Regions from separate parts of the Homo sapiens genome. Here regions 2, 3, 4 and 5 are each linked to region 1. The links are contacts of gene promoters, found by promoter capture Hi-C in blood cells and fetal thymus (Javierre and others, 2016). All regions are on one chromosome and are shown on one strand. The core of a region is centred on a gene start or on the middle of the fragment in contact, and the rest is flanking DNA. Distances in the headings are between cores, read along the strand shown. Region 1 holds the start of WDR73 (WD repeat domain 73). Region 2 overlaps ZNF592 (zinc finger protein 592). Region 3 overlaps ZNF592 (zinc finger protein 592). Region 4 overlaps ALPK3 (alpha kinase 3). Region 5 overlaps SLC28A1 (solute carrier family 28 member 1).

Region 1 (4,583 bases), core at 934-3,433:
TCATGATCCGCCCAACTCGGCCTCCCAAAGTGCTGGGATTACAGGCGTAAGCCACTGCACCTGGCCTTCAATTCTTCTCTCAATGATTTTATTGGAACTCTAGACAGCTACTAACTCTTTTTTTCTTGAGAAGTTCTCTTCTCTTGGCTTCAGAAACATTGACCTTTTCTGAGATTCCTCTTACCTCAGAGGCTGTTCTTTCTTAGTATTCTTTGGGGAGGGGGGGTGCATCTTCCTGTACTCATCCCTTAAATGTGTTCCCTGAGGTTCCGTCCTCACTATATTCTCCTCACTCCTTATATACCACACATTCACTAGGTGACTTTAATCACTCTACGCATTTCGACCGCCCTCTATATCCTTAATCGCTCCCTAAATCTATTTCTGATAAAGTATAACTGACCTCCTCCTCTGATAGCCCTCTGTAAACCACGAGACATTCTACAGCATTTATCTCTGTGCATATGTGCCTCCCTCTGTTAGACTAGAAGGGCAGGCCTAGCGCTTTCTCTCTTTCTAGTATCCAGGACAATACCTGGTAGATAACAGGAGCTCCACAAATGTTTAATAAATAAATAAAAGTTGACATACTCAGCATTTATATTTTAAGTTACCTTGTTTTCCTTTACAGAAAGTCTGAGAGGTAATTTCAGATGAAGAATTTCATTCTTTTTCAGGCTTTCATAGCCAGCAACAAAGACTCCTGGAAAAAGAAGCAGAGGTAGCTGTCACAAATTGTTAGAAAGATTGCAGACCATGCAATCCCCCGAAGTAAGGATACATTCCTTCACTGTGCAGCCTTGTATGGAGGAATTGAGTACCTGGTTGTGTCTTTTTCAGACAAGGTCTCGCTGTGTCAGCCAGGCTGGAGTGCAGTGGTCCGATCACAGCTCACTGCAGCCTCAACCTGCCAGGCTCAAGTGATCCTCCCACCACAGCCTTCAGAGTAGCTGGGATTATAGGCGTGAGCCACCATGCTCGGCTAATTTTTGTATTTTTTGTAGAGACAGGGTTTCCTTGCTTAGGTTAGTCTCAAATTCCTGGGATCAAGCAATCTGCCCGCTGCCTCAGCCTCCTGAAGTGCCCAGCCTGAAGACTTTTTTTGTTAGCCACGCTGGAATACAGTGTCGTGATCTCAGCTCACTGCAACCTCCACCTCCTGGGTTCAAGTGATTCTCCTGCCTCAGCCTCCCCAGTAGCTGCTGGTACACAGGTGTGCACCACCTCGTCCGGCTAATTTTTGTATTTTCAGTAGAGACGGGGTTTCACCATGTTGGCCAGACTGGTCTCGAACTCCTGACCTCAGGTGATCCGCCTGCCTCGGCCTCCCAAAGTGCTGGGATTACAGGCGTGAACCACTGCTCCCGGTCAGAGATCTTAATAAGAGGAATATTAGTGCTGATGGGGCATCAAATTGCTACAAGTGACTCTCAGGTGCCCAGAAGAGTGGGTTGGGTCCCTCTAGGCTTAGCTCCTGAAACCCAGCTCAGGAGTGAGATTCCCTCTCCTTCAGGGCTAGAAAGGTATACCACCTTTGTCATCAATCCATTCAAGGACTCGAGTGGCTCCTGACAGGTCGAATGCATAGAAATCCTGGTACCTGCACAAAAGGGACACAGAATCACACGATGCACAGCACTTCACAGCTCAAAGAACTCCAAGATGGCAGCCGCATGGTTCAGTGGCCCAAACTCTGGAGTCAGGCAGACGTGGGACTGAGTTTACTTCCCATTTTACTCCCTGTTTCTGGGACCAGGCCAGTCCCTTGATGTCCCTGAGCCTCGGTCCTCATGTGTGGACGTCCCAGGGTACCCAGATTTCCCAAGGTTGACGTGAGGAATCAATGAGATCATCTGTGTTCTGAGCTGAACTCAGAGGCTGGCGCAAACTAACTGGGCACTGCGTCTTCACAAGCGCGGCTCTTACTAGTAATCTCACAACGCGCGCACGCAGGAAGGAGCCATTTCCTAGAGATGGGGGCCTAGGCCCAGGCGGAGTCCTCCACGGTGGCGAGCCCCGAGGCCACAGCTGGCCCACTCTGCACCAGGATCCCCAACGTGCCTCCACCCACACCCATCCGCCCGCCAGGCAAGCTCCAGGCCCAGCTCCCATGTCCCAGCCCCGTACGATTTACAAGCGCAAGGATTCCACCAGCCAGTCGTCCCCAGGATCCATGGCAACGACCGCTTCCGGCGTCTCACTTCCGCCTGCGAGCCTTCGGGGGCCGCGCGGCTCTCGCGAGATGTGGGCAGGGCCTCCCGTTAGGGGCGGGGTTAACAGGCTGAGCTGCGGCCCGGCATGGGTGGGTTACGGGTTTTCTCCGCGAAAGCTCCGGGAAAAGTGACCTGAAATCGGGACTTTCCCGCTGTCAGCTCCAAGCAGGACCTGAGGACCAAATGATCGCCCGTTTTAGGGCCAGGTGTTTGCAGCCCAAGAGAGGGGCAATGAATGCTCCAAGGCCAGAAATAATACAGGACCGCCCGGTTAAATTCGAATTTCAGAAAAACGGTGAATAATTTCTTTCTTACGAGTATGTTCATGCAATATTTGGTACATTTTATTAGATAAAATTATTGTTTATCTGAAATTCGAATTTAACTGGGTGTCCAGTATTTTTATTTGCTAACGCTGGCAACCCTTCTGACGGCCAGAGAAGAGAGGAAGCGGCCGGCAGGGTCTGGATCCCAACTCGGCGCTCCCCTCCAAGTCCGGCGGGGGTATTGAGTAAAGCCCGGCAGTGTAGTGTCTGCAGCCCCCTTTTACTAGCGAGGAAACTAGTGACACTTGCCTGCGCCAGTAGGTGGCAGAGATGAGAGTAGAACCCCGCGCCTGGCACGAAGCCTGGCATGCAACAGGCGTTATTTGCTTGCTGAATGAATGGGTAGGAGGCCAGAGTCAGTGCCAGGCTGGTGCCATGGCATGGGGTATTCTGGACTTTTTGAGCCAGCCCCATCTCACTGAACACTCTGCCCTCCAGCCCCCTTTTCCTCCCATCCCCTAAAAGACGGGTGAAAGGAGAGGACCAGGCATTGTATGTAAAGAGCAAGGTTTTATTCACCAATTCAACAGGGAAGCAGGAAATACAGCAGGAACATAATCTGTGTCTGCATCAGCGATATTTCTGGTGACCCAGCCAGAAATCACAGTAATGGAGTAACAGAGATTTGAGCTCAGGATTTACATCCAGATGGGGCCATCAACAGGGTCCCATTCAGCACCTTCCCTGGGTGGGCACAATCTAAGCCACGCTGTTGTGTCTGCCCCATTATTGGTGTCATTTCTGCAGTATTTGTACCAGCAGCCTCCTGTACTGAAGAGAAACATACAGAAGAATTGAGCCAGGGAGGGGCTCCTGATAAAGATAGGGGCATCCTGCCATTCCTAAGTGCCAGATGTCTGCAGAGGTGGGCACCAGCAGGCTGTCAGCTGAGGCAGGCCCCAGAGCACCCTGAATTGCCTTGGAGGGGTCGGGGCAGTAGTTTTCTCAGAACACAGCCCCAACCACCCAGGGTGGTCATGACAGTCAAAGAAGATCGTGGAAGAAAATCCAAATACAGTGCTTGGTGCTGGGCTAGTGTCAGCGTCCTCACTCCCCCACCCCAGCTCTGCCCCAGACCTCACTCTGAAGCCCCAGACGTAGGCACTGCTGCTTCTGAGATTCTCTAGTTGGTCTGCATGTGTCAGAGCTTCAAAACCAAGGGCATTAGAGGTGACATTGTTTCCCTTCAGACTCAGCCAGCCCAAGCTCCTAGGCCTTACATCTGAGGTCCTCAGGGGCTGCTGGTTCTGTGCCTCAGGAAGTCAGGGATGTTGGTTGAGGCTGGGTTGGACCTTTTCTAGGGAATGCCTCTCCCTTCAAAATGCACACACTATATGCTAGGCACACTGGGGGATATGAAGGCGAGTCTACAACAGGTGCCGCCAGGGAGCTCACAGACTGATAAGAGCTCGCATCTACTAAGGGCTGTCTATGAGCCAGGCACCATGCTGAGCATTTGACATAAATGGTCTCATTTAATGGGAGATGGGCCTTATTATCTTCATTTTATGGGTGAAGAATATTGAGGCTTTAGAGAAGTTAAGGGACATTTCTAAGGTCATACAGCTACTAAGTAGCTAGGTTATGAGCCCAGCACGTTGTAGTCAAAACCCACATTCTACCACATCACACTGCCTTCTGCACACAGCAGCAGGACCAGGGAGGGTGGTGTGCAGTAAGGACAGCACCAGGAGCAGGGAATGAAGGAGTTGCCACTCAGCGGGGCTATACCTTGAGGCTAGCTTGGCTCCAGCTTTGGAGTCTTGAATCCCATAGATCAGTGACTGACAACCAATAATGATTTGGGGCCCTCTCCCCCAGCAGACATCTGGTGATGTCTGGAGGTCTTTTCAGTTGTCACAACTTGATGGGGGGGAAAGATGCTACTGGCATCTAGTATGTAGAGACCAGGGATGCTGCCAAACATCCCATGATGCACACGTCAGCCCTCACAAGAAACAGTGATTCAGCCTAGAACGTCAAATGTACTGAAGTTGCTAAACCCTACCACTGGATACTGAGGCAGATGAGAGAATGGGAAGAG
Region 2 (4,424 bases), core at 1,780-4,279, 150 kb after region 1:
AGACATTCCACAATACAAAAGGGTATACAATAAATGGTAAGCTTCCCCATGGAGGTCAGCCTCTAGTCCCCTCTCCAGAGTTAATCACTGTTATCTATATGTTGTGTATCCTTTCATAGCAATTCTATGCATTTACAAGTTTATAAATATGTATATTTATATATCTATTTTTAATACAAATAGTAGAATTCTATACACAGTGTTCTGAAGCTTGCTTTCTTATATAGTATTTTGGAGATTATTCCAAATTCATACATTGGGTCAGAGTAATTCTTTAAAAGTTCCTTGCATATAACAGTGATTCAAAAAGTATATGGATGAATGAGTGAATGCTGCATGAATGAATGAATCTGATTCAATTGGTAGCTACAGCTGTTCTCTCAGGGTCTGATCTGACCAAGACAGCACCTTCTAGATTCTAGAATGTGTCCTCCTGACTAAGGGGTTCAGGATACTGTTCACCTTCTCCAACAGATGCCACCGGAGCCTTAGGAACTGGGCACAGGAAGCCTTGGGCCCCTGGAGGAAAAAGTTGAGACTAGGACGCAGGTCCCAAGTATGGGATTTTTTTGGGTTCCTACTTAAAATGCTTTTTTCTTTATTGGAAAATGATGTAACATTTTAGAGAAATTAAAAAGCACACATATTTATAATCTCTTCCTCTTACCATTGTAGTTGTTTTCATTTTTGCCTATCACTTTCCAATCCTTGTTCAGCACATTTGTAATTGAATTTATGGTATAATTATGATAGCAGCAGTGGTTAACATTGAACATTTCTATATGGCAGACATTATTCTCACATTCATTTTTATTTAGCTTCACAACAATCCTGTAAGATACATACTACTACTATTCTTTTGGAGACAATAAAATTGAGGTTCAGAGTAGTTGAATGACTTCCTTAAGGCCATGGAGCTAATAAGGGGCAGAGCTGGAATTCACACTCAGGGGTGACTGACACTATACTGTCTCTGATTTTGTACTCTACTTTTCTCCACTTAACGCAGAAAATGTCCAGTACATGTTTCTACATAGCCTTTAAATCATCATTTTCTTTTCTTTTTTTTTTTTTGAGACGGAGTCTGTCTCTGTCGCCCAGGCTGGAGTGCAGTGGCGTGATCTCGGCTCACTGCAAGCTCCACGTCCCAGGTTCACGCCATTCTCCTGCCTCAACCTCCTGAGTAGCTGGGACTACAGGCGCCTGCCACCATGCCCAGCTAATTTTCTTTCTTTTTTTTTTTTTGTATTTTTAGTAGAGACGGGGTTTCACCGTGTTAGCCAGGATGGTCTCGATCTCCTGACCTTGTGATCTGCCCGCCTGGGCCTCACAAAATGCTGGGATTACAGGCGTGAGCCACCATGCCCAGCCTAAATCATCATTTTCCATAATTGTAATCACGTTCATCATGCCAAATCAATACAATTGACCATTTCCTGTTTAACATGTAAATTCCCTACTTCATCAGTGCAATGAAGAGTCCTGAGCATATAGCTTCTTGCTTCTGCAGAATTATTTCCTTGGGAGTTTAGCCCTATTTTTTTCTTGAGTAAACTGGCGAGTGATAGAATGGAGAAGTTCATTGTCATAATAGTAATCAGACGCCCTAGGGTGCAGTCTCATTTCTGTAAGTGACAGTCATTTGGTCTTTCCTGGCCTTAGTTCTCTTATCTATCAAATGAAGGGGTTGGTTTATATATCTCTGGGGACCTTGATTTTTATCTTCTCAGTCTGTATACGTTCATGTCAAAATAGACCTTCCCAAAGGCAAGAACTTGTATTTCCTCTTTTGCTTATTTTTTTATTTGTTTACTTTTGACCTAGATGCATACAAAAATGGAAAAGATCCCTCTTACTCAGCCCTTCCAAGGCAATATCACTTTTATTTGCATTTATTTGTTTTTCAGTTTGCATTAGATTTATGCTTTCTCAGATAGAGTTCTAGCTCTTTATGAGTACCTATTTTTTTTAAAAAAAGTCTCATTGTTAATCATCCTAAGTTTTGCAGCTTTTTAAATTTTATTACTTTTTTTTTTTTTTAGAGACAGGGTCTGGCCCTGTCACCCAGGTTGGAGTGCAATGGCACAATCATAGCTCATTGCAACCTCAAACTCCTGGGCTCAAGTGATCCTCCCACCTCAGCCTCCCAAGTAGCTGGGACTACAGGTGTGTGCCATCATGCCTGGCTAATTTTGTTATTATCTTTTTAGAGATGGGGTCTGGCTGTATTGTCCAGGCTGGTCTTGAACTCCTGGGTTCAAGGGATCCTCCTGCCTCAGCCTCCCAAAATGCTGGGATTACACGTGTGAGCCACGGTACCTCGCAATTTTTTTTTTGGCTTTTGTCAAGCCTTTTGAAGTTTGAACTTTGTCTACTTCATAACTTCCAAGCATCTTCAAATCCTTCTGTCACCAGGCATTTTTCATTAGGGTTCTAGGTCCAGGTGAATTCTTGAGTTGGTTCGTTGTGTCATGTATTGGCCTTTAATAATGCTCTTATTTTGGCCCACGCCTGTAATCCCAGCACTTTGGGAGGCTGAGGCGGGCAGATGATGTGGTTAGGAGTTTGAGACCAGCCTGGCCAATATGGTGAAACCCTGTCTCTACTAAAAATACAAAAATTAGCCCGGCGTGGTGGCAGGTGCCTGAAGTCCCGGCTACTCAGGAGGCTGAGGCAGGAGAATTGCTTGAACCTGGGAGGTGGAGGCTGCAGTGAGCTGAGAACACACCATCATACTCCACGCTGGGCGACAGAGCGAGACTCCGTCTCAAAAAAAAAAAAAGCTCTTATTTTATATATATATCTATATATACCCATTTACAGATTTAAATTGAGTTTTCAGTGCATGAATACTAAAATCAACAAATATTTAATTGACCATAAGGAAAAGGGGTGCAGAAGGATGTGATAAAGACATGTAAATCCATTCTAACTAGGAGAAGCTTCCATCACAATGAGTCCCCAAGTGACAGTGGATCTGCAGCACCAGGGTGTTTCATGAAAGGACGTGGGATCATACATAGAGTGTTCGTCCAGATCTGCTAAATCGCTTCGCTTCTTGGCCTTTTGGCTGAGATCAAGTACAGACCTACCAGATCTTCTCAGACTTAATCCTGTAAGCTTTGCCTCTATTCTATATGAAAATGGGGATGGTAGATGATGCATTTGATATTTGGAGAGAGTGATTAAGCTCCTCTTCAATCTGGCATTCATTAAACTTGGAACCCCACTGATTCTAGGTCTCCCCTTTCAATTATAGCACAGGGCACACACATAATCCCTCCTTTTCTGTGGGGTTTTTTAGTCTGTAGAACAATTTGCTTAGAATTTTCCCCTAAGATCCATTGTGCATAACAGAGCTGAATATTCTTGGTATCTGAACAAGAAAGTAGGTGCTGCTTTCTAAGAAGCTCTTTGCCTATGGAGGAGGGGTTTTGATATGATTTAAAAGTGGGGAAAAGGAGAAGATGGAAAGTGGGGGTTGTCAGGGGAGGTGATGGTGGGAAAAGGGATAGAAATTTGTGGAGGGGCAGGCAGAAGAATTTGAACAGATGGAGAGTTTAGAACCTGGAAACTGCATTTTTTAAGACAGTGATAGAAATGGTGCTGGTGAGCTCAAAAGGGAGGTAGTGGCTTGATTCGTCAACGGCAGCACTTGGGTGAGCAGTAACTGTGGCAGCAGTTGCTGGGAGGAATTAATTTTTTTTTTTGAGACAGAGTCTCACTCTGTCACCCAGGTTGGAGTGAAGTGGTGCTATCTTTGGCTCACTGCAACGTTTGTCCCCCAGGTTCAAGCGATTCTCTTGCCTCAGCCTCCCCAGTAGCTGGGATTACAGGCACCCACCACCACGCCTGGCTAATTTTCATATTTTTAGTAGAGACGGGGTTTTGCCATGTTGGCCAGGCTGGTCTCGAACTCCTGACGTCAGGTGATCCACCCGCCTCAGGCTCCCAAAGTGCTAGGATTACAGGCATGAGCCACCACGCCCAGCCGGTATTAAAAGTTTTTTAAAGAATGAGAAGATATAGCTGTTGAGGAAAAGGAGAGCTGAGATTCAAAGACTTTCTTAGAAAAAGACAAAGACTTGAAAGGGAGGAAAAAGACTAGTTTACCTTGCAAGAAGACCAGGAGAAGCCTGGGCTGGGAAGAGCCTTTTCTAGGTTCAGTTGAAGATAGGGAGTTTATATACTGGGCCCAACTGACTAATTGCTGGCCCCTGACCACACACTTATCCTCTTATCTAATGATTGCTTTATTTTGGGACATGCCTAGATTTGTGGCAGTCCTGGATGGAATCAGAGCAGGTGGATTGGGGAAGACACGTGGCTGTGGCAGCTCTATCATTGAGTCCCAAATTCCCTTTCCAATCAAATGAGAATCAGGACTGACTTCTCATTGCCAGTAATCCTTTAATTGGTGTCCA
Region 3 (4,733 bases), core at 234-2,733, 140 kb after region 1:
ACCTCCTCTATTAGTTTAAATGTTGTCATGGCTCATTGATTTTTATATATTCAGTATATTTACATATTCAGTCATTCTTTTTAATGCTCATGTTATCCTATCTTTGGTCAGTGGCAAGCCCCTTCGAGCTGGCTTCTATATCCCTCTAGTCAGCTCCTCTGACCCCACATCAGTGGCCACCTCTGTGAGTAGGACAGGTGTCCCCTTTACTAAGAAGTTAAGAAGGGCCTCTCCAGCATGCAGGCACCAGCGAAGTCTTTTACTTTTTCCCTCTGGGCTGGCTGCTTGTCAGAGCTCTGCCCATCAGAGCGTAATTAGTCTGGTTGTAGTACTTGTACTTCCCCTGGTTTTCTCCTGGGGCTGGGAACAAAGGAGCTGCTACCTAATCTGCCCTTGTCTGTGGGTATGTTTGCTTAGCTGTGGCTCAGGGAACCCCCGCCACCCATCCCACCCCCCAACCCCCACCCCCGCAACTCTCCTAACCTGCAGAGTGGGCAAACAGGGCTAGAGCAATGGAAACTGACAAGACCACTCAGTCAGTCTTTATTGAGAGCCTTCTGAGTACCAATCAGGGTGGTCTCAGATCCACTTTGGAAGTCACTGATCCACCTGACTCGAGGTGCTGAGCAGGTCTCTACCAGGCCAATGTTGGGGGTAGATGGCAAGAACTGCCTCTACTGAGCTGTGACAGAGACCCTGGTGGGTCTAGCAGTGCAGTGAGGTCTTAGAATTCAAGATGTGCTTTAGGCCTCTGCAAAGGAAAAGCTGGTCCTCTGCTAAGCCACAGGAAAGAAACACAGTCCTGGGGCGGAACTGGTCTTTGAGAGAATAGGGTCAGGTCTGTCTCTGATTAATAGGGTGTCAGACAAAGCTTGCTTGGGTATCAGTATCAGCACTGGAAATGAGGTCTAGGGGTGTCAGAAGTGTCCAGGAGAGTTGGAAGAGAGAGTGGTTGGGGGAAGGGGTTATTCTGACCCATGTACTAGCAAACCAGACAGCCCTGATTGGAGAGCCACAGGCCTATGGCCCCTGCATGATCTGCTTTCTTGGTGTTCTTTCCTAGACCTGCCAGGTATGCCAAATGCTGCTGCCCAACCAGTGCAGTTTCTGTGCCCACCAGCGGATTCATGCACACAAGTCCCCCTACTGCTGCCCGGAGTGTGGGGTCCTCTGCCGCTCTGCCTACTTCCAGACCCATGTAAAGGAGAATTGCCTGCACTATGCCCGCAAGGTGGGCTACAGGTGGGTGCTGCCTGGCTTGCTGTCCTGGTATTGCCCAATGGCTGGTCCTTTTCCTAAGCCAGAACTCATTTCAGATAGTTTTGGTCTTAAGAGGCTTGGGTTCCAGTCTACACAGGACAAGAGCATTGGATGGTATGTGGACAGACATTTTTTATTTGGTAGCAGACAGGAAGAACAAGAGAGAGAAGAATAAGGAGTTTTAAAAACTTAAATATTAGAAAATTAGCTTTGAAGTTTTGGGGAGATTAGACATATAATACTTTGTCTATTTGGTTTTAAAACGTATGTAAGTTTAATTTGCTCACCAAGTTATGTTTGGCACATTAAATGTAAAGTGCTGTTTCAATAATGAATGTACTAATTACAGTACTTGGAAATGTTTGCAGGTTTTAACAAATGGGGCTGCAAGATGCCAAACTCAAAGGGCTTTAGTATCTTTCTTTTTGTTAATTTTTGTCAGTTTGTGGCAAAATGGGCAAAACCTGAGACTGGAAAAAAGGATCAGCCTCTTGGTAAAACCAAGAAAACTCTTATTTTCAATGGAATTTCCTCCTTTGTGTCAAACATAAGCAAGAAGTCATTTTCAGGGAAAAGATCAAAGTGAGGGAAAAAACTTCCCTCTAGAGCTCATTGATCTGTAAGTTGTTTTCTGCTCTTTGGCATTAAATTTTTTTTTTTGGTTTTAGTTCATTTGACTTTTTTGTGTGTACTTATTATTGTCTTCGGCATTGTGTTAGACACTCAGGATACAAAAATGATTAAGACACAGCCCTTGCCCTGGTAGGTTACAAACATAAGAACATAGGTAATTATAACCCAGAGTGCTAAGTCCCACAATAGAGAAATGGTCAGGAAAGCTTCCTAAAGGAGATATTAGGAGATTTTCAGACAAAAGAAGGGGAAACCATACCTGGCAAGGGCCTGACCAGGAATAACAGCATACACAAAAGAGGTGTCAGGAATGATGAGTATGGTTGTATAGAGGAATGTCAGGATGAATTGTGGGAGTGGGGAGAAATGAGACTAGGGAGTTGGCAGAGGTCAGACCATGCAAGACCTTGTATTTCTTGGCAGACATTTGGACTTTATCCAATGGACAGTGAGGAGCTACAGAAATATTTGCAGCAGGGGAGTGATTTGGCTAGTATATTTTAGAAAGATCATTCTGGGAAGCGAACACATATATTAGTGAGGAGAGAGACTGAAGACTTCTTGAAAGGCAAGTATGATGGTCCAGATGAGATGCTGAGGGCTTCACTGAAGGCATGATCGTGGGAATGGAGAGAAGGTAGATTTGACAGGGGTTTAGGAAGAAGCATCAAGATTTGACAATAGCTTTTATATGGAATGAGGGATGAGGAGTTTGGCAGAGGCGAGGCTAGGCCATGCAAGACCTTATATTTCTTGGCAGGCATTTGGACATTTTCCAGCGGACATTGAGGAGCTACAGAAGGATTTGCAGCAGGGCAGTAATCTGGCTAGTATGTTTTAGAAAGATCATTCTGGGAAGCTAACACGTATATTAAAGTTTTGCAATGACTCCCACATTTCTGTCTTGGGGTAAACATTTTATTTGTATATTTTTTTGAGACAGTGTCTCACTGTCACCCAGGCTGGAGGGCAGTGGTGTGATCGTGGCTCACTGCAGCCTTGACCTCCCGAGCTCAGGTGATCCTCCCATCTCGGCCTCCCAGGTAGCTGGGACTACAGGCATGCACTGCCATGCCTGGCTAACTTTTTGTGCTTTTTGTAGAGAGAGGGTTTCACCATGTTGCCCAGGCTGGTCACATAACTCCTGGGCTCAAGCGATCCTCCCACCTCAACTCCCCGAAGTGTTGGGATTACAGGCGTGAGCCACCGTGCCTGGCATTATAAACATTTAAAAATGTAGACTGATTTCTTTTTCATCTTATGGAGGATGGAGTATCTAAAGTACATTAAAAACAAGACAAACCTAAGACAGGATTATACAAAGCACTTACCACCAAGTTGCTGAGGAGCATTGCTTGGCAGCATCCCAGGCTATATTTTAAACCAAACATCTGAATATGTTTTTACAGTATCCTGTAACACTTAAAAATACCTTTCTAGCCTTGATTTAAGTGTATGCTGCTTGTTCTAAGATCAAATCCAATCCAATAGTAATACAATCAACACTTAAATATTTATCTTTGAATCTTGAATCCAAGAAAAAAAATTTTTTTTTTTTTAAAGATGGAGTCTCGCTGTGTCACCCAGGCTGGAGTGCAGTGGCAGCATCTTGGCTTACTGCAATCTCCACCTCTCGAGTTCAAGCAATTCTCCTGCCTCAGCTTCCTGAGTAGCTGGGATTATAGGCATGTGCCACCACGCTTGGCTAATTTTTGTATTTTTAGTAGAGATGGGGTTTCACCATGATGGCCAGGCTGGTCTCAAACTCCTGACCTCAGGTGATCCACCTGGCTTGGCCTCCCAAAGTGCTGGGACTACAGGCATGAGCCACTGCACCTGGCCCAAGAAATGTTTAATTGTACGGATGGATTAATACTTTTCATTTTTAATTACATATTTTCTTATGTACAAGTAAAAAGAAATGTCTCAAAAGCAGTTCAGTTTATCAAACCTTTTTGTAAGGAATGCCAGACCAAATGAATTGTGACTCAGCGAAAGGGATTACTGAAGATAGCGATATTAAAATTTTCAGTGATCTGCGGTTGAAGTCAGAAGACATACACAACACTACAGTGTTCATAACAGAGTTGTGCAATCACTACAAACAATTTTAGAGCATTTTTACTATCCAAGAAGAAACCTCATATCCACCACTTCTTTCTTCCCCCCTAGCCCTAGGCAATCGCTAATTTACTTTCTGTCTCATAGCTCTTCTGGACATGTCATATAAGTGGAATTATGTAATATTATTAGCATATTTGCAAGGTTCATCCATGTTGTAGCATATATCAGTATTTCATTCCTTATTATGGCTGAGATTCCATTGCGGGGATACACCATGTTTTGTTTATCCATTTGTCAGCTGATGGACCTTTGGGTTGGTTTCCCCTTTTGGCTTCATGAATAATGAATAATATGAATAATGCTGCTGAAGAACATTCATGTACAAGTTATCATGTGGACATGTTTTCAGTTGCTTTGGATACCTAGGAGTAGAATAGCTGGGTCAAATAGTAACTCTGTAGGGAGGGGAACATCACACACTGGGGCCTGTCAGCGGGTGGGGGGCTAGGGGAGGGATAGCATTAGGAGAAATACCTAATGTAGAAGACGGGTTGATGGGTGCAGCAAACCACCATGGCACGTGTATACCTATGTAACAAACCTGCACATTCTGCACATGTATCCCCAAACTTAAAATATAATTTTAAAAGAGGAAAAAAAGTAGTAACTCTGATTAACTTTTTGAGAAACTGTCAGACTATTTTCCAAAGTGACTGCAGCGTTTTTACATCCCCACCAGCAGTGTATCTAGGTTTTGATTTCTGTACACCCTTGCC
Region 4 (4,390 bases), core at 1,005-3,504, 190 kb after region 1:
GAATTTGTAGCCTGAACACAACTAGGTAGATTGCCTTCCAAGACAAAGATGTTAATACTCTCCATAAGATTTAAACAAGAATCAGAGTCTTGTAATATTTAAAATGTCCAAATACAATAAAAGTTACATGGCATATGAAAAATCATGAAAATCTCCACTTGCATGGAAAGACAATCAAAGAGTGCCAATGCCACAGTGACACAGATGTTAGAATCATCTGACTTTAAAATCATCTGACTTTACTATAAAAATGTGGCAAGTAAGGGTGAATACTCTGGAAACAAATGGAAAGATAGAAAGTCTCAGCAAAGAGGTAAAAGACTAGGCTGGGGAACATGGCAAAACCCTGTCTTTACAAAAAATACAAAAAAGTTAGCTGGGCATAGTGGTGTGTGTCTGTAGTCTGAGCTATTTGCAGGGCTGAGGTGGGAAGAACACTTGAACCCAGGATGTTGAGGGTGCAGTGAGCTGAGATCACGCCACTGAACTCCAGCCTGGACAAAGGGAGACCCTGTCTCAAAACAAACAAACAAACAAACAAAAAGAGGTAAAAGATATGAAGAACCAAATATCAATTTTATTCATTTTTTATTTTTTATTTTTTTGAGACAGAGTTTTGCACTTGTTGCCCAGGCTGGATTGCCTGGCACGCTGCAGTGGCATGATCTCGGTTCACTGCAACCTTCACCTCCTGGGTTCAAGAGATTCTCCTGCCTCAGCCTCCTGAGGGAGTAGCTGGGATTACAGACGTGTGCCGCTACACTTGGCTAATTTTGTATTTTTAGTACAGGGGTTTCACTGTGTTGGCCAGCCTGGTCTTGAACTCCTGACCTCAGGTGATCCACTCACCTCAGCCCCAAATATCAATTTTAGAATTGAAATTTACAATAACTGAATAAAAAGACTTACTGGTTGAGCCCAACAACAGAGTGATAGGTGACAGGGAGAAGACAGTGAACTTGAAGTTAAAGCAATAGAAATTATTCAATCTGAACACATACGCCCATACACGCACAGAGAGAGAGGAAGGGAGGGAGAAACGGGGAGAGAGAGAGAGAGAGAGAGAGAGAGAGAGAGAGAGAGAGGAATCAGAAAAATCAATGAACAGAGCCTCAGAGACTTGGAGTGCTGTATCAAAAAGTCTAACATTTGTGTCACTGGATAATCAGAAGGAGAAAGAGAAAGACAGTGATGCAGAAAAAAATATCTGAAGGAATAATGGCTGAAAACTTTCAAAATTTGGCAAAAGTCAAGAAGTTCAGCAAACCCTAAACAGGAAAAGCCCATAGAATTCCACATCCAGAAACCTCATAGCCAAACTGTTGGAAAGTAAAGACAATGAAAAACTCTTGGAAGTAGCCAGAGAAACATAATACATTATTTATAGGGAAGCAATGATTTGAATGACTATAGATTTCTCATCAGAAACAATGGAGGCCAAAAGGAAGTGGAACAACATTTTTTTTTAATGCTAAAAAAAAGAACTTTCAACCTATAATTCTACATTTAGCAAAAATATCTTTAAGTATTGAAAGTGAAATAAAGACATTCTCAGATAATGGAAAAAACAAGACACTACATTGTCAGCAGACCTGTTCTAGAAGAATTGCTAGGCTGGGAGCTGTGGCTCACGCCTGTAATCCCAGCACTGTGGGAGGCTGAGGCAGGTGGATCACCTGAGGTCATGAGTTCGAGACCAGCCTGACCAACATGGTGAAACCTTGTCTCTACTAAAAATACAAAAAAAATTAGCCAGGGGTGGTGGGGGGCACCTGTAATCCCAGCTACTGGGGAGGCTGAGGCAAGAGAATCACTTGAACCTAGGAGGCAGAGGTTGTGGTGAACTGAGATTGCACCACTGTACTCCAGCCTGGGTGACAAAGCCAGACTTGATCTCAAAAAAAAAAAAATAAAAAGAAAAAGAATTGCTAAAGTAAATTTTTCATAGAGAAAGGAAATAATACCAGAAGGAAACTTGAAACATCAAGAATGAAAGAAGGGCAATGGAAATGGTAAATATCCTGGTAAATATAATAGATTATTTCATCTTGATTTCTTTAAAATATGTTTGAAGGTAAAAAGTAAAAAAAAAAAATTACATTGCTGGAGTTTTTTTAATGTATGCAAATATAATATATAAGACAAATACAACATAAAGGGGCATAGGGTAAAGAGACCTATATGATGGTGAGATTACTGTATGGCACTTGAAGTGGTAAAATATTGACTCTAAGTAGACTGTGGAGAGTTAAGTATGTATATTGTAAGCCCTAGAGCAACAACAGAAATACTATACAAAGAGATATAGTAAAAATCACACTACGTAAGTTAAAGTGGAATACTAAAAGATGTTCTAATCTAAAAGGAGGCAAGAATAGGGAAACACAGGAAGGAAAAACAGGAAACAAATAGAAAACAAATAGTAAAATTATTGAGTAAAATCTAAACCTATAAATAATTATATTAACTATAAATGGTCTGAGCATATCAATTAAATGACAGATTGTGAGACAGGACCAGAAAAACTTTCCCAACTTGATGCTGTCAATAAGAAATCCATTTCAAATATAGTGATATAGGTCAGTTACAAGTAAAATAATAGAAAAATATATACCATGCAAACACTAATCAGATGAAAGCTGGAATGGCAATATTAATATCAGACAGAGTAGATTTCTGAGGAAAGAAAATTACTGGCTGGGTGCAGTGGCTCACACCTGTAATCCCAGCACTTTGGGAGGACAAGGCAGGCAGATCACCTGAGGTCGGGAGTTCGAGACCAGCCTGACCAACATGGAGAAAACCCATCTCTACTAAAAATACAAAAATTAGCCAGGCATGGTGGTGCATGCCTGTAATCCCAGCTACTTGGGAGGCTGAAGCAGGAGAATCACTTGAACCCGGGAGGTGGAGGTTGCGTTGAGTCGAGATCACGCCATTGCACTCCAGCCTGGGCAACAAGAGTAAAACTCTGTCTCAAAAAAAAAAAATTACTAAGAGAAAAATAGTGAACTATCTAGTGATAAAAGGGTCAATTCAAGAAGACATAACAATAAAAAATGTGTATGCACCTAACAACATACCTTCAAAATACATGAAGCAAAACCTGACAGAACTGAAAGTAGAAATATACAGAAAACAATAATTATAGTTGGAGACTTTAACACTCCTCTCTCTCAGTAATCAATAGAACTAGTAGACAGAAAATCAGTAAGGATATAAAAGAACTGAACAGCACCAGCAACCAACTATCTAATAGACATATATAGAATACTCTGTGTAACAACAGAATACTCATTCTTTTCAAGTGCATATAAAATATTCACCAAAATAGATTATATCCTGGACCATAATATAAATCTTAACAAATGTGAAGTAATTGAAATAATACAAAGTATGTACTCTGACCAAAATGAAATTAAACTAGAAATCAATGACAGAAAGATAATAGAAAAATTTCTAAACACTTTTAAATTAAAGAACATACTTTTATGGGCCAAGGAAGAAGTCCTAAGGCCAATTAGAAAACATTTTAAATTGAATGAAAGTGAAAATACAACATACCAAAATGTTGGATGCTGCTAAATCAGTGCCTTGAAGAAAATGTATAGCATTAAAATGTTTATATTAGAAAAGAAAAAGGATCTGAAATATCAATAACCTAAGTTCCCACCTTAGAAAACTAGAAAAAGAAGAGAAAAATAAATCCAAAGCAAACAGATAGAAAAGAACAGAAAATAATGAAACCAAAAACAGGAAAATTATGGAGAAAATAAACCCAAAGCTAGTTATTTGAAAAGATCAATAATATCAATAAACTTCTGGCAAGACTTAGAAAAAAAAAAAAAAGAAGACACAAAATACAAGTATTAAGAATGAAAGAGGGGATATCACTACAGACCCTGTAAGGATTGACAGGGTGAAAAAAAAAAAAGACTACTATGAAAAACTGCACATAAATTTAACAACTTAGATGAAATAGAGCAGTTATTTAAAAATTATAAACTACCAAAACTTATGCAAAAATGACTGCCCTGCCCCATCCCTGTTAAGGTCCTGGTTTTGTCCCTTGCTCTTCCAAACCAGCATTCCAGGGCCATGCCCCCTTAGAGGGTTATAAACCATACTATTTTTCATTCAGTTGTTCATTCCTGTGAACCCCTTATGTGTTTGGTACTGTGAAGAATGCAAAGGTGAATAAAACTTTTTATTTTTATTTTTATGTTTTTATTTTAAGAGACAGGGTCTTACTCTATTGCCCAGGCTGGAGTGCAAGTGTCATAATCATAGCTTACTGCAGCCTCGAACTCCTGGGCTCAAGCAATTCTCCCACCTCAGCCTCCAGAGTAGCTAGGACTACAGGCATATGCCACCACACCTGGCTAAATAT
Region 5 (4,676 bases), core at 1,885-4,384, 240 kb after region 1:
GGAGCAGCTGGAGCGAGGCGGCGCCGAAGCCCTTCTCCAGATGGTAGGTGATCTCTGGAGAGACAAGGGCGGGCCTGGGGTGGAGGCTGCTTGGGAACAGGATGGGGAGCCGGGCCTCCTGGCGGATGGGAGTTGGGGGGACGTGAACCTTTGTTGAAGGGAGGAATAAAGGCGCTTTAGCCAACACGCACAGGCACATGAGCCTCGAGGGTGAGCCAAGTCACAGGCTCCCCACCTGCTTTTGAACAGCTGAAACGAAATCCCATCAGGAACCCCAGTATGTACCGTGGGGCCTGCCCTGAACCAGCCAGGCCTCCCTCTCAACCTCCCCCTTCTGCCTTCTACCCCCATTCAGTCTCTGGGGTACCTCGGGGAGTCTGAAGACTCCGGTTAAAAATCCTGAACTGGGCAAGGTCCCTGATTTTACACAGGGAGGTAGAAGCCCAGAGAGGGGAAGGGACCAGCCAGGATGGCATAGGCAGCGAGTGTCTGAGGTGAGCATAGAACTCCACCTCCTGATGCCTGGGCCATCTGGGTCCTTGTTGGCCAGATCCGGAGCTGAGGACACCGTGATGGGCAGGGGGTGGTGGTGGGGGAGGGATTCCGTCTCTCTGCCTGGGCAGGGGATATGGGAAGAATGCCTCCTCCACCCTCTCAGGAGGAGGTGGGAGGTGGGGACTGAGAGGAGGTGAGGCTCCTTAAAATGGCAGCTGGTGGGTGGATTCCAATTAGCATTGAGTGGGCGTCTACTCAATGTGTGTCCCATGGGCAGGTGGATGAACGACAGGGGAGGGGAGGCAGCCATCCATGTTTTTCTTTTCTTTTCTTTTCCTTTTTCTTTTCTTTCCTTCCTTCCTTCTTTCCTTCCTTCCTTCTTTCCTTCCTTCCTTCTTTCCTTCCTTCCTTCCTTCCTTCCTTCCTTCCTTCCTTCCTTCCTTCCTTCCTTCCTTTTCTTTCTCTCTTCCTTCCTTCTTTCTTTTCTTTTTTCTTTCTTTCTCTTTCTTTCTTGCTTGCTTGCTTTCTCTTCCTTCCTTCCTTTCTCTCTTTTTTTTTTTTTAGGCAGGTCTCACTCTGTTGCCTGGGCTGGAGTGCAGTGGCACGAACCCTTCCTGGGCTCAAGAGATTCTCCTGCCTCAGCTTCTTGAGCAGCTGGGATTACAGGCGCACGCCACCATGCCTGGCTAATTTTTGTGTTTTTGGTAGAGAAGGGGTTTGTCATGTTGCCCAGGCTAGTCTTGAACTCCTGGGCTCAAGTGATCCACGCTCCTGGGCCTCCCAAAGTGCTGGGATTACTGGTGTGAGCCACCGCGCCCCCCCACCGGCCACATTTCTGTATGTTGATGAGGTTCTGCCTTTTCAGTGAACTTCCTCCTGAGCCCTGGAGGCAGGGACTATCACTGGGGTAGTGGGGCCTGTGGGTGCTGCCACAGAGGCAGGAAGGCCTGAACCATTTCTACATTTGCCCTGGGCTGGGGTTGCCCTGCAGCCCTGTGGGGATGTCAAGGCAAGCCCTGGCTTGCCCCTGTTGCCACTTTACTGGGGACATACCTGAGTGGAGGTGCTGAGGATCTCCCCCAGATGGGGTCTGCTCATGCACTCATGGACCCTGCTGGTCTTGTTCCCAGGAGGAACCTGCAGCCAGCCCTGAGAGCCAGAAGCTTCTGCAGGGAGCACATGCAGCTGTTTCGATGGATCGGCACAGGCCTGCTCTGCACTGGTGAGCCTGGGGCCCAGCACTACCCAGGACACAATGACTCCTGCCTCAGCTATCCATGTCTCAGGGCAGGGTCATTCACTCACCCAGTCATTCAACAAATGGTTGTTGAGCACCAACTCAGGTCCAGCTCCCTTGCTGGGTACTGAGGCATCTGTTAAGCCAGGCCAGATCTTGTTCCCAAGGCACTCCCTCATCAGTAAGGGAGGCGGAAGAAATAGTCCCACATAATGCAGCATGTCATCTGGGAACACCAAGGAGGAATGGGGGATGATCAGGGAGGACTTCCAGGAGGAGGTGACATTGGAGTCTCACAGGCTAAGTAGGAGTTAGCCAGGTGGAGGTGATAGATACTAAGGAGGGCAAAGGCACTCCACACAGAGGAGTCACAGGAGCAAAGGTGAAAACTGGCAGGGTGTGGGTTTCGATAAAGTTCGACGTCTGCACTGTAAGGTCTGGAGGGTAAAGTTCTAGACAAGGAGTGTCAGGGGATGGGGCTGGAGAGATAGGAAAGGGCCCAGGATGGGGAGTGGGTAGGGATATGGGAGGATGCTCAAGGACTTGGATTTTACCCTCAAGGCCAGAGAGAGCCACTGAAGGTTTTGAACAGGGAAGCGTCAAGGTGGAATTCACACGGTGGGACCCTGGAAGGAGGGCAGGAAAGAGGGGGAGATGGAGACATTGAGGACTGCAATGCCTGTGTGAGAATGAAGCTGTGGAAGGTGGGCGGGGGCAATGGGAGAGGTCCTTGGGAAGCAATGCTAGCTGTACTTGGCAATGACTGGGTGTGCAGCATGAAGGAAACCCTGAATTAGGGCTGCCCCAGGGGCCTGCTCGGGTGATAGGAGGATGATGGTGTCTTCCACAGAGCTAGAGAACATGCGTGCAGAGGGAGTCTTGGCAGGAAGGGGGATAATTAGGATAGTTTGTTGGAGGTACCACTGCCAGGCCATCTGAGGGAGAGAGGAGGCTCCCCAGGCACACTTGGAGAATGAATTGAGAAGTGGGTCAAGGACAGAAGCCTGGAGACCAGCCACACAGAAGGGGTTGGCGGCAGCCAAAGGAGCAAGGGTTTCAAGGAGGGAAAGATCAGCAGCATCTCTGCAAGACCCGCAGGACAAAAACTGAGCCATGTCCACCGATTTAGGGACAAGGAGGCCACTGGTGACTTAGGGTGTAGGTGCAAAAACTGAATTGGAGCGGATGGCAGATGAGGCTGTGCAGACAGCAAGTGTAAATGGCTTTTTGGATCAATTTTTATGAGATCAGGCGGGGAGGCTGAATGGGCAGGGTGTGACCCAGTGTCAAGGATGGGCATGAGTTTGGGGTGGGAGACACTTTGTTTGTACGAGCTGAGGTGGGGAGTTTGTAGAAGGAATATGAAGGAATGGGAGATGAAGAGATGTCCGATGGAGCAAGGTCCCCTGGCACGGAGTAGAAAAGCTCCCCACCCCACCGGGAGGGGTGGGTCTTTGCAGGAGCAAGCTCACCTCATTCTGACAGGTTGGAATTAAAGAGGGGCCAGGCATGGCAGGTGGTTCATGCCTGTAATCCCAGCACTTTGGGAGGATGTAGTGGGAGGCTGTAGTGGGAGGATTGTTTGAGCCCAGGAGTTTGAGACCAGCCTGGGCCACACAGCAAGACCCCACCTCTACAAAAAATTTTAAAAATAAAAATAAATTTTAAAAAAAGAAAAAGGAGGATGGGTACAGATGCAGAGTCATTATAGGTGCTCTGGAGGGGAGGGGCAGTGAGAGAGGCGACAGCAATGACCTGGTCTGCTTGGTGAACTTGAAAGTAGGGTCATCTGCTGAGATGGGGTGGGTCCATGTCCCTCACAGCTTCCTTCTAGAGATGGTGATGTCCACCTTTGGCAGGGTCTGAAGCCAGGGCCATCTCTGTTTCCTTGGCTGCCTCCTTCACTCAGATCTGATTTGTTTCTCTTGAAGAACAATTGAATTCTCTCCAGTAGAGAATGAAAATTACCCCACTCATCCTATTTCCATGTTTGCCATGGCTGTCAGGAATGCAATCTGAATCATTGAATGATCCCTTGCAATGGTCAGCAGTGACTTTCTCTGTTTCTGGGTGACTTTGATTTCTCTGGCTTTTCAATATCTTTATTACATCACCTCTTTCCTGGGGAGGCTGTTCACAGACGTTCTGGGAATAGCTGTGATAGAGAAATGAGGCTCATATTCTCAGGACTTGGCTCCTGAGCTGCGACAGTGGCTTGCTTGCCTTAGGTAGGCCTTCTCCATGGGTGCAGCGACAGCGCTGGCACCATCAGACTAACAAGGATGGCCTTGGTGTCCCCAGTCTTAGAAGAAGGAGGTGCCTCTTGCCCGCTCTCCCAGCCAAAGCCCAGGGAGGTCTTCAAGGAGCTTAGCTCAGGTCCTGCCCGTCCCCAAACCAATCCCTGTGAATGGATCCTAGATGAATAAAATACTTCCAAAAGCACTTCTGTCCTTGTGCCCCTCCTGGAGGACCCCTCCACACTGCCCCCTCTCCCTGAGTCCCCATCCTGGCCTGCCCAGACCCCCCCAGCCTTCCTGGCCCGCCCCGACCACAAAGCACAGGCCCTGAGGCGCACAGACCTTCTTGGCCTCCTAGCCCCATGCCCTCCCTGTGTGAGGCACTCATCTCGGCTGGCCTCAGAGGCCTCCCTCTCCAAGTGGGCATCACTGTAGACCCCACCTTGTAGGGGTCTTGTGAGGATTCATTGTGAAAATGCATCTGAAGTGCCAAGCTCACCTCCTGGCGACCACGGAGCCTCTCCCTGGCCAGGTCCCCCTCCCCTGAACCCCCATGGCCGGTGCCAGCAGCCCCAGCACCGCTCTGTGGGGCTCCACCCGTGTGTCTCAATGACACCCGTTCAGGTAGGAACTCCAGCCCACAAGCTTCCATGTGAGAGAAAGGTCATTTTATTTTTTATAACTCAACTTATCTTCTCCCTCAATGT

The links. The method cuts DNA at HindIII sites, captures the fragments that hold promoters and counts their contacts. A CHiCAGO score of 5 or more calls a contact.
Region 2: a fragment that was not itself captured here is called in contact with the fragment with the promoter of WDR73 in region 1 in 17 of 17 cell types (M2 macrophages, M0 macrophages, naive CD4 T cells and 14 more); the score reaches 11.3 in M2 macrophages.
Region 3: a contact is called between a fragment that was not itself captured here and the fragment with the promoter of WDR73 in region 1, in 17 of 17 cell types (neutrophils, naive CD8 T cells, naive CD4 T cells and 14 more). The highest score is 15.5, in neutrophils.
Region 4: a fragment that was not itself captured here is called in contact with the fragment with the promoter of WDR73 in region 1 in 3 of 17 cell types (M2 macrophages, neutrophils and endothelial precursors); the score reaches 8.1 in M2 macrophages.
Region 5: a contact is called between a fragment that was not itself captured here and the fragment with the promoter of WDR73 in region 1, in 3 of 17 cell types (endothelial precursors, M0 macrophages and M2 macrophages). The highest score is 6.0, in endothelial precursors.

The regions. Positions count from the first base shown.
Region 1 is chr15:84,652,100-84,656,682 of GRCh38, forward strand. It overlaps WDR73 (WD repeat domain 73), which reads right to left and starts at 2,184. Exons shown (of 8, transcript NM_032856.5): 1 at 2,135-2,184; 2 at 1,533-1,600; 3 at 615-703. The coding sequence starts at 2,175. NMB (neuromedin B) reads right to left here. Exons shown (of 3, transcript NM_021077.4): 3 at 3,033-3,310. The coding sequence ends at 3,275. RefSeq lists enhancers at 1,537-2,504, 1,931-2,170. The HindIII fragment of the contact is 10,475 bases long and covers 1-4,583 here.
Region 2 is chr15:84,805,780-84,810,203 of GRCh38, forward strand. ZNF592 (zinc finger protein 592) reads left to right here. Exons shown (of 11, transcript NM_014630.3): 11 at 1-666. Among named protein-coding and RNA genes, the nearest start is that of ALPK3, 9.4 kb to the right of the region's middle. The HindIII fragment of the contact is 178 bases long and covers 2,941-3,118 here.
Region 3 is chr15:84,789,642-84,794,374 of GRCh38, forward strand. ZNF592 (zinc finger protein 592) reads left to right here. Exons shown (of 11, transcript NM_014630.3): 5 at 1,064-1,242. Among named protein-coding and RNA genes, the nearest start is that of ALPK3, 25 kb to the right of the region's middle. The HindIII fragment of the contact is 1,228 bases long and covers 870-2,097 here.
Region 4 is chr15:84,846,165-84,850,554 of GRCh38, forward strand. The region is part of intron 5 of ALPK3 (alpha kinase 3); the gene reads left to right. Among named protein-coding and RNA genes, the nearest start is that of ALPK3, 31 kb to the left of the region's middle. The HindIII fragment of the contact is 4,724 bases long and covers 1-4,390 here.
Region 5 is chr15:84,888,818-84,893,493 of GRCh38, forward strand. It overlaps SLC28A1 (solute carrier family 28 member 1), which reads left to right. Exons shown (of 19, transcript NM_004213.5): 4 at 1-43; 5 at 1,626-1,717. Among named protein-coding and RNA genes, the nearest start is that of SLC28A1, 6.5 kb to the left of the region's middle. RefSeq lists an enhancer at 860-1,428. The HindIII fragment of the contact is 2,956 bases long and covers 1,657-4,612 here.